Regions from separate parts of the Homo sapiens genome. Here region 2 is linked to region 1. The links are contacts of gene promoters, found by promoter capture Hi-C in blood cells and fetal thymus (Javierre and others, 2016). All regions are on one chromosome and are shown on one strand. The core of a region is centred on a gene start or on the middle of the fragment in contact, and the rest is flanking DNA. Distances in the headings are between cores, read along the strand shown. Region 1 holds the start of INO80C (INO80 complex subunit C). Region 2 has its middle 63 kb from the start of MAPRE2.

Evidence for each region. The method cuts DNA at HindIII sites, captures the fragments that hold promoters and counts their contacts. A CHiCAGO score of 5 or more calls a contact.
Region 2: a contact is called between a fragment that was not itself captured here and the fragment with the promoter of INO80C in region 1, in 1 of 17 cell types (activated CD4 T cells). The highest score is 5.2, in activated CD4 T cells.

What each region holds. Positions count from the first base shown.
Region 1 is chr18:35,495,430-35,499,445 of GRCh38, reverse strand. INO80C (INO80 complex subunit C) reads left to right here and starts at 1,486. Exons shown (of 5, transcript NM_194281.4): 1 at 1,486-1,727. The coding sequence starts at 1,572. RefSeq lists enhancers at 1,309-1,578, 1,929-2,048, 2,319-2,468. The HindIII fragment of the contact is 4,638 bases long and covers 1-3,832 here.
Region 2 is chr18:34,976,864-34,980,865 of GRCh38, reverse strand. It overlaps a transcript of MAPRE2 not described here. Among named protein-coding and RNA genes, the nearest start is that of MAPRE2, 63 kb to the left of the region's middle. RefSeq lists enhancers at 1,944-2,443, 1,400-2,599, 2,444-2,945 and a silencer at 3,761-4,002. The HindIII fragment of the contact is 447 bases long and covers 1,657-2,103 here.

The DNA.
Region 1 (4,016 bases), core at 237-2,736:
GAGGTGAGGAATGGGAGGAGGTGGGGACAGTAGAGTTTGCTTAGGTGACTGGCTTGTTGGAGGTGAGTCCTTGAGTTAAGGAATGAGGAAAAGACTAGCTTTAGATGAGGATAGGGATGGAGATGGGGTGTGGGAAAGAACATTTCAACACTGGTAGGCTTATTCCTTTCTCTAAAGGAAAAAATATGTCAGTAACAATATTGCAAGTTTCCCTAACTGCTCCTTCTCTCTCACCTCTAAGTCATTGTGCAGCCTGTTTATTTCAAATATCAAGACTCATATACATCAACTTCCTGTATTCAAACATAGTAGCTTCCACCAATCACTGCAGGGAGTTAGTTCATTCGTTAAATACATCATTAAAAATACTTATAATGCACCAATGACTTGCAAGGTACTGTGATTGGGGGGACTGATAAGTTAACAAGACATAACTGACCCTTCCCTCATACAGATTACATTCTAGCAGGAGCCAAAAAAGACATTAACCATCCGATTATAAATCATTTAGTTATATGATGTCGCAAAGGTTCTGTAAAAATATAGGGTAGAATGAGGCAAAGAACAAGGCGGGTAGGGGGACTCAGGTTCCTAAATAGGTTTTAGTAGATCTGTGACCTCCCTGAAATCTGTAAAATTTTGTCTGTGTCTGTATACATTTAATGGGGTGGTGGGGAGGTGGGGGTGTGCGGCAGGGATAGGAAGCACAGATTCCATGCTCAAGAGTCTGTGAATCCTAAGAGATTAAGAACCGGCCGGGCGTGGTGGCTTACGCCTGTAATCCCAGCACTTAGGGAGGCCGAGGCGGGCAGATCACCTGAGGTCGGGAGCTCGAGACCAGCCTGACCAACATGGAGAAACCCCGTCTCTACTAAAAATACAAAATTAGCCGGGCATGGTGGCACATGCCTGTGATCCCAGCTACTCGGGAGGCTGAGGCAGGAGAATCGCTTGAACCCGGGAGGCGGAGTTTGCAGTGAGCCGAGATCGCGCCATTGCACTCCAGCCTGGACAACAAGAGCGAAACTCCGTCTCAAATAAAAGAAAAAAAAAAAGGGAGAGATTAAGAACCACTCTACCCTTCATGTCCATTTGGGCGCTATTTATATACAAACCTTTTCCGCGTGGGAAGGCAGGGAGGGATAGAGGGAGAAGCCAGTAGCTTGGCGGTCTACTGAGAACGACCCCAGCTTTAGGCTTACAGACATCAAAAGTAATCACTCTTCTATATGAGAAAAGACAACACGCTCATTAATTTTTTAAAACGTAGTTACTTAAAAAGATTGGGAGATTTTCTATTCCTCTATCAATGGGGATTTCCAGGCACGTGCCCCACCCAAGGCCCACGCCCAGAGCGCCCGAGTGGCAGGACAACGCCCGCTGACATCTTCCCGTCCCGACGGCACAGGCTACTCCGAGCTCCGCCTTTTAGATTGCACCGAGAGAAGCCAGCTACAGCTTGGAGTCCAGGCCGGGTTTTCAAGCATCAAGACGGAAGTAACAGCGGAAAGGAAGTTCCAAGGCCCGCGCTGGGAAAAAGGTGGGGGGACCAGGGGAAGACTCGGAGTGCGATGGCGGCGCAAATTCCAATTGTGGCCACCACTTCCACTCCCGGAATAGTCCGGAACAGCAAGAAGAGGCCGGCCAGCCCTTCCCACAATGGCAGCAGCGGCGGGGGCTATGGCGCCAGTAAGAAGAAAAAAGCGTCCGCTTCCAGCTTTGCGCAGGTACGCAGTCGCGCTCCCAGGCTGCGCGTGCGCGTCGCGAAACGGGACTTGGCGGGGCGGAGCCGAGCCAGGGCGCGTGCGTAATGTGGGGCGCTGCGCGTGCGGTCTCCGTTGGGGTTGAAAGACGCTGCCCCGCGGAGTGAATGACTACTCTTTCCCTTCGTTTGGACACATGGGCTTACAACGCCTTGTGTTGTAAGGAGAGAAGAAGAAGTAGGGAGGTTATTACTGACTTAGTATTAATAGAAGGACTGCCTCTTCCCCTCGAGGTCGCCTTTAGCATGAGGTTCAGGACTAATGAGTGTCAGTCATTCAGAAATTTGCGTGTCTTCCCCTCGTCCATTCTGCAGACATCTACCCAGTGTCTTTGAGGCGCATAGCGCTGTAATGTCCTGCATGGATGAATACAAGATGTATTGATAAGTATGCTTTCTCTCATCCTGAGAAAAGTGCTTTTTTGACCCTGGGTTTCCCAATCCAAAGGCAGGTTTGGTCTTAACTCATGGGCTTGTTAAGGTTATGAAGTAATGAGTGTAAAGGCACTGAGCTCAGCGCCTGGCTCAGACGTCAGGGCCTCTGAACAATCTAGGTTCCGTAATTCCAGCAATGAATTTTCAGCAGGGAGTGGCTTGATTAGTGTTTTCTCTGGCTCCTGCATTTTATTCAAAGCAAAAAAGCAGAGATAGAGTGTGTTACTTTGTGCTCCTCAGCATATGGTGTGACACCACCGTTCACCCAGTCAGTCAGTGGCTGTTCTAGAAATCTTGTTCCTTCTTCTGTAGGTGATTGGTAGTGCTTTTTATTTTAACCTTTTAATATTAAATACTTTGCTATAGTAAGATTTACACAGAGTACAATGCACAAATTTTCAAGAATACTGGCTGAACCACAGATCTTCAAGAATCCTGTCTCACGCCTGTATCCCAGCACTTTGAGAGGCCAAGGTGAGAGGATTGCTTGAGGACAGGAGTTCGAGACCTGCTCCCCAACCCCCATCCAAATTTACAAATAGCTGGGCGTGATGGTGCACGCCTTTAGTCCCAACTACAAGAGCATCACTTAAGCCCAAGATTTCAAGGTTACAGCGAGCTATGATCGTGCCATTGCAGTCCAGCTTGGGCAACAGAGTGAGCCTATCGCAAACAAAACAAAACAAAACAAAACTACAGATCCAGTGCCCTTTTACATTTGTATACACCTATGGCCACTGCCTGGATCAAGATAGCATTTCTAAGAGCAGGTGACATTTTCCTGTCAGTACTGTCTTTCCTTCCTAACAGTTACCCACTGTTCAGCCACCCTTCACAATAGACTGACTTTGGGTTGGAACATAATATAAATGGAATAATACAGGACAATAGGGAACATATTCTTTTGCATCTGTCTAGGTTCCTTTTTGAGACAATGTTTTTGAGAGTCGTTTAGTACATCTGTTGCATTGTATAAACATACACCCGATGAATATTTGAACGTTTACAGTTTTTGGCTTTGTGCAGAAGCTGCTCTGAACATTCTTGTACAAGTCTTTGTGTAGATAGATGCTTTCATTTCTCTTGAGAAGTAGTGGAATTGCTGAGTCAGAAGGTAGGCATACATTTAACTCAGTAACTGTTAAACAGTATTTCTCAAAGTAGTTGCACTGTTTTTGCATTCTTACCGGCAAAGTATGAGAGTGCCAGTTGCTCGAAATCCTCAACAATACAGAGTATTGTCAGTCTTTCATTGTCAGTCTTTAACTTTTAGCCATTTTGTTGAGTGTGTAGTAGTATCTCCTTGTTTTAATTTGTTTCTCTGATGGCTAATGATATCAATCACTTTTCATGAGCTTGTTGGACATTCCAGATCTTTTGTGGAGTGCCTAATTATTTTTTTCTAATTGGCTTTTAAAAAAAAATTATATTGATGTGTAGAAGTTCATTACATTATCTTTCTTGATTAGACTCCTTTGCCAGATGTATGTATTGTGAGTAATTGCTCCCAGCCTGCGACTGGTGCGTTTTGATAACCAGTTGTGCCAGGACCAAGGAGTGTCACTAGGACATATGGGTAGGAATAATTGTTTTGACCCCAAAGGGATTGTTGATCAACTTCCACTACCACAAGCTTCTGAAAGTGGTCAAATGCCTTCAGGAGACTGGAAATTCCCAGTAATCCAATATGGTGGAAATCTTAACTCTCTATTCCCTCTGGGCCTTTTTTGTATCCAAGCAGCAGCCTCAGGAGAAGCTGGAAAGGGCAGAGCATTTCATGAAATAGTGCCTTCTTTTGTCCTGACTCTCCTTTTCCCAA
Region 2 (4,002 bases), core at 631-3,130, 520 kb after region 1:
AAAAGCTATTTAACTATTAATCTATTCTACAATGTTTCTCCTAGCTCAATAAATTCATATGTGGTTTTTCATAATAATGGGTAGAGAGTGAAATTTTGTGAAGTGATTGTTTTGGCCCATTAGAGTGTGGTTAAATGTGATAACAATTATTAGTTATGCTCAAAATGCTAAATTGTTGGGTATGAAATGTAAGTGAACAAATAAGCTATCATAGCAAGTAAGAATTGTGACAGGACTTTGGCTTCTATATATCTGGAATGTCTGTCTTGGAAAACAGCAAACTGAATGTACTCAGGATGCTTTGGTTTTCAATGTTCTCCCCACCTTTTGATACTCTTCAGTACGAACAAGCAGTATCAATAACTAACAGAGTCTGTGCCCCTGCTTTGGGGGCTACAGACACTGAGGCCCCTATGAGAAAATAGAATACCAAGCAGGCTACAATAGATGCTCTAAGAGAGGTTCAGATAAAGTTCAACGGCCAAAAATATTGAGTGCTTGCTGTGTGCAAGACACTGTTTTTCCTCCTTAAAGAAATTGAGGGCTGGTGTGGTGGCTCACTCCTGTAATCCCAGCAGTTTGGGAGGCCGAGGCGGGTGGATCACCTCAGGTCAGGAGTTCAAGACCGGCCTGGCCAACATGGTGAAACCCCATCTCTATAAAAATACAAAAATTAGCTGGGCATGATGATGTGTGCCTGTAATCCCAGCTACTCAGGAGGCTGAGGCAGGAGAATCGCTTGAACTTGGAGGCGGAGGTTGCAGTGAGCCGAAATCGTGCCAGCCTGGGCAACAGAGTGAGACTCTGTCTCAAAAAAAAAAAAAAAAAAAAAAAGAAAAAAAGAAAAAGAAAAAGAAAAGAAAAGAAATTGAGGAAGGGGAAGAAAGCATTTAGACAACAGTGCAGAGAGTGATAGTGATATTAAAAATAGTGAAGAGGTATTAAAACTGAAAGAAGAAAAAGAAAGTTTGTTTTTTGATGACTCTAAGATAACCTGTTAAAGATACAGAGAACCAGAGATAACAGGTTATCCTGGAGTAATCCTTTTGGGATGACAGTTTTAAAGGCAAGAAACCTTTGGTTAATAGCCAACATGAGGTTTTATATAAAATGTTAAGTGTAACCATTTCTATTTAAATAGATCATTTAATTCACTCCTGGATGTATAATCAAGTAGTATTTGACTTTTTTGTATGCAAAATTTATGTGTTACATATTCATCCTTTCTGCTTCACATAACTGAAATAACCCAAACCAGTTTACACTTTCCCAACAGTTTTTTTTTTACATGCTTCCCACCAAGAAAGTTACAGGATGTCTAGTTAGCTTTGTGTTTCCCCTTCTAACAGAAGAGAGCATTATATGAAACAGGCAGAATGGTGTGCTACAAAGGGAGTGGCTCCTGCAAGCAAGTAGATCCTGATCAGATATTAAATGTGCTTTCAAAGGAGTGCAGTTTGTGCGTGTCAACAAACTACTCGCTGTAATTACTTCCTATTCACTGGGATCGCTGTGCAGCCTGCTGACTCACCAGGCTGCTGGAGTATGTTTCTGCTGGGTTTTCCTACTGACTGCTACACATGAGTCATCACAGGAATGGAAGTTTCTATCCGTCTCCCTTAACAACAGTGCAGAAACCAGGCATTGAAGTAAGCTTCGATTTTTCCAATCAGACCCTAGCCAGGGAAGGGAAAAATGTTGTGGTAGGTGTCACCACCAGCTAGGCTGCTAGATGACAGTTCCCCGCCCCAGGGTGTTAGTCATCGGCACTCCAGTTTCAGCGTCTTTTCTCTCACCCACCCAAGTAGTTAAAGTGGCATCTTGTCTTGCAATGCCTGCTGCTGCTGGCCGCTGAACTCTTCCTTTGCTGTAGAGTTTCCCCAACTTGGCTGCACAATGAAGTTACCAGGAGTTGTTTTTGCTTTTAAATACTGTGCCTATTTCTCACTCCCAAACAACCTGATTTAAATAGTTTGGGATGTGATCAGGACATCAGGAGTTCTCAAAGCTCCCCAGATGATTCCACTATGCAGCAAAATTTGAGAACCAGTGCTTTGAAGAAGCATAGCTCTACCCACGCAAGGAAAATTTACCAGTTAAGCTTATCTACCAATCACTCGGTGAGCTCCCGGACCTCTTATCTTACCCCTAACTGATGTCTTTAATCAGTTTGGCAGAAAAGAACGAAAGCAAAGTAAGGAAGCATTTCATTTCCAGAGGGGACACTGGCTAACCAAGAGCCATACCCCTTTTTGCTTGATAAAAATTTGGCCAAATTTAGCGTTCAGGAGAAGCAGGGGAAATGTTGCCATTCTTCAGATTACCTTTTGATCTCTGTTCTGTTTCATTCCACAGTGTCCTATTCAGCAAAAGTGTAAATCGCGGGTCCTCAGATTAGAAGTAGGTGCTGCGTCTGACCACAATCGCAACCGGTCTGCACACTTCACCCCAGCTGGGACCGAACCTCCGCCTCGCAGCGCGGCCCCAGGGTCGATACTATGCTAATCAAGGAAGTTCTTCCGTTTCGGTGCGCGCGGGCGCGGGTTTGAGCGCTTAACCCTTCATTCTACATTGACAGCACGATAGTATTTTTAGTGACCTCTTCCTGCCTAGCGGGTCTACACTATTTTCCTTTTGTTCTTCTTTTTTTGGAAAAGGAGATGTGAACAAGTGATAGAGAAGACAATCAGGGAGGGGACAGCAGTGTTGGCTGGTGCGGAGGTGAAGGAAAGGCTAATGTTCGTAATATTAATTACTCCCAGCGCTACTGACCCAGCGAGGACTAGCAGGAGGGGCTTGGGGGTTAAGACAAAGGCTTCTCCTGATCAAATGGCTGCAGCGCCCCTTCTCCGAGGTTACGGCTCTGCCCTTGGCACTGTATTGACGAAGTCACTGGAGGAGTGACCAAACCCACTAGCCCTTTTGGGGTCTGAAAATCAGCTTTATCGAGCGCCCCAGGTTCAGAGGGGACCGCTTTCCGCGTCCACCCCTCTCCTGGCTCTTTGTGGGATTTCTGGCTTCCGCATAGCCCTTCTAAGGGTAGACCGAAGAATTTCCCACTAAGCCGAGTGCGAAGTCGCTGAGTAGCCCTCGCCCTGCGCTCCCGGGGCTCCCTGCAGAAGAGATGCTTGGGCGCAGAATAACAACCCGCTTCCTTTTGCACCCACCCGGCTCCTGAGTCCCGGGAGCGCGGATGGTGGCCGGCGTCGGAGTGGGAGAGTGGTGGCTGCCGAAGGGGAAGTGCCCGGGGTCCAGGGGATGCTCCCAAGCGCGCGAGCGCCAGCGCGCTGCACTTCCTGATCTGCCCCCAAGCGCGCAGCCCCTGCCAGAGCCCCCAGCTCTCTCAGTGCCGGCGCCCCAGCTAGAGCCTGGAGGGTCGTGCGCCGCGGTCGCGCAGTCGCGAGCCCCCCTCCTTCACCAACGCCGTGTTCCTACCCTGGACAGCCCCAGCCTCACCCCTCAGAACCAGTCCACTTCGCTTCTGCCAGCGTGGCAGCCCCAACTCCCTCCCTCCACTTTCCTGGGGTGCACAGAGCTGGGGCACCGAACCAGAGATGTGGCCCGCGGGAGAGCGGCGGGGTGCACACCCGGAGACCGCCTAGCCGACCCTTGCACAACTTCTTGCTAGACTCTGGACCCCCGGTTCCGGTTGCTCCGAGCCCCGCGGGCTGCAGACCTCAGCGGCAGGAGGAGGCGCAGCCAGCCCCTGGCCTGGGAGGGACTGCTTCAGTGCAGGGGGTGTCGGGGTGCGCCAGGGCGGTACCGCTTTAAATGCACTTGACTCACCTGCTCCGGCGCTGTCGCCTCCTTCCTCTGCTGACAGCTGGGGGCTTTGTTTTCTCCACCCACCCGGCCGCCGTGCTCCGCCTCCTCTGTCGCACGTGACTCGCAGTCTGCCACCGCCGCCGCCGCCGCCGCTCCGGGAGTCCACCCGAGAGAGTCCGGCCAGCGCCGCCCCTTCCCGCGGGTGCGGGTGCGGGTGCGGGTGCAGGTGGGCGCCCC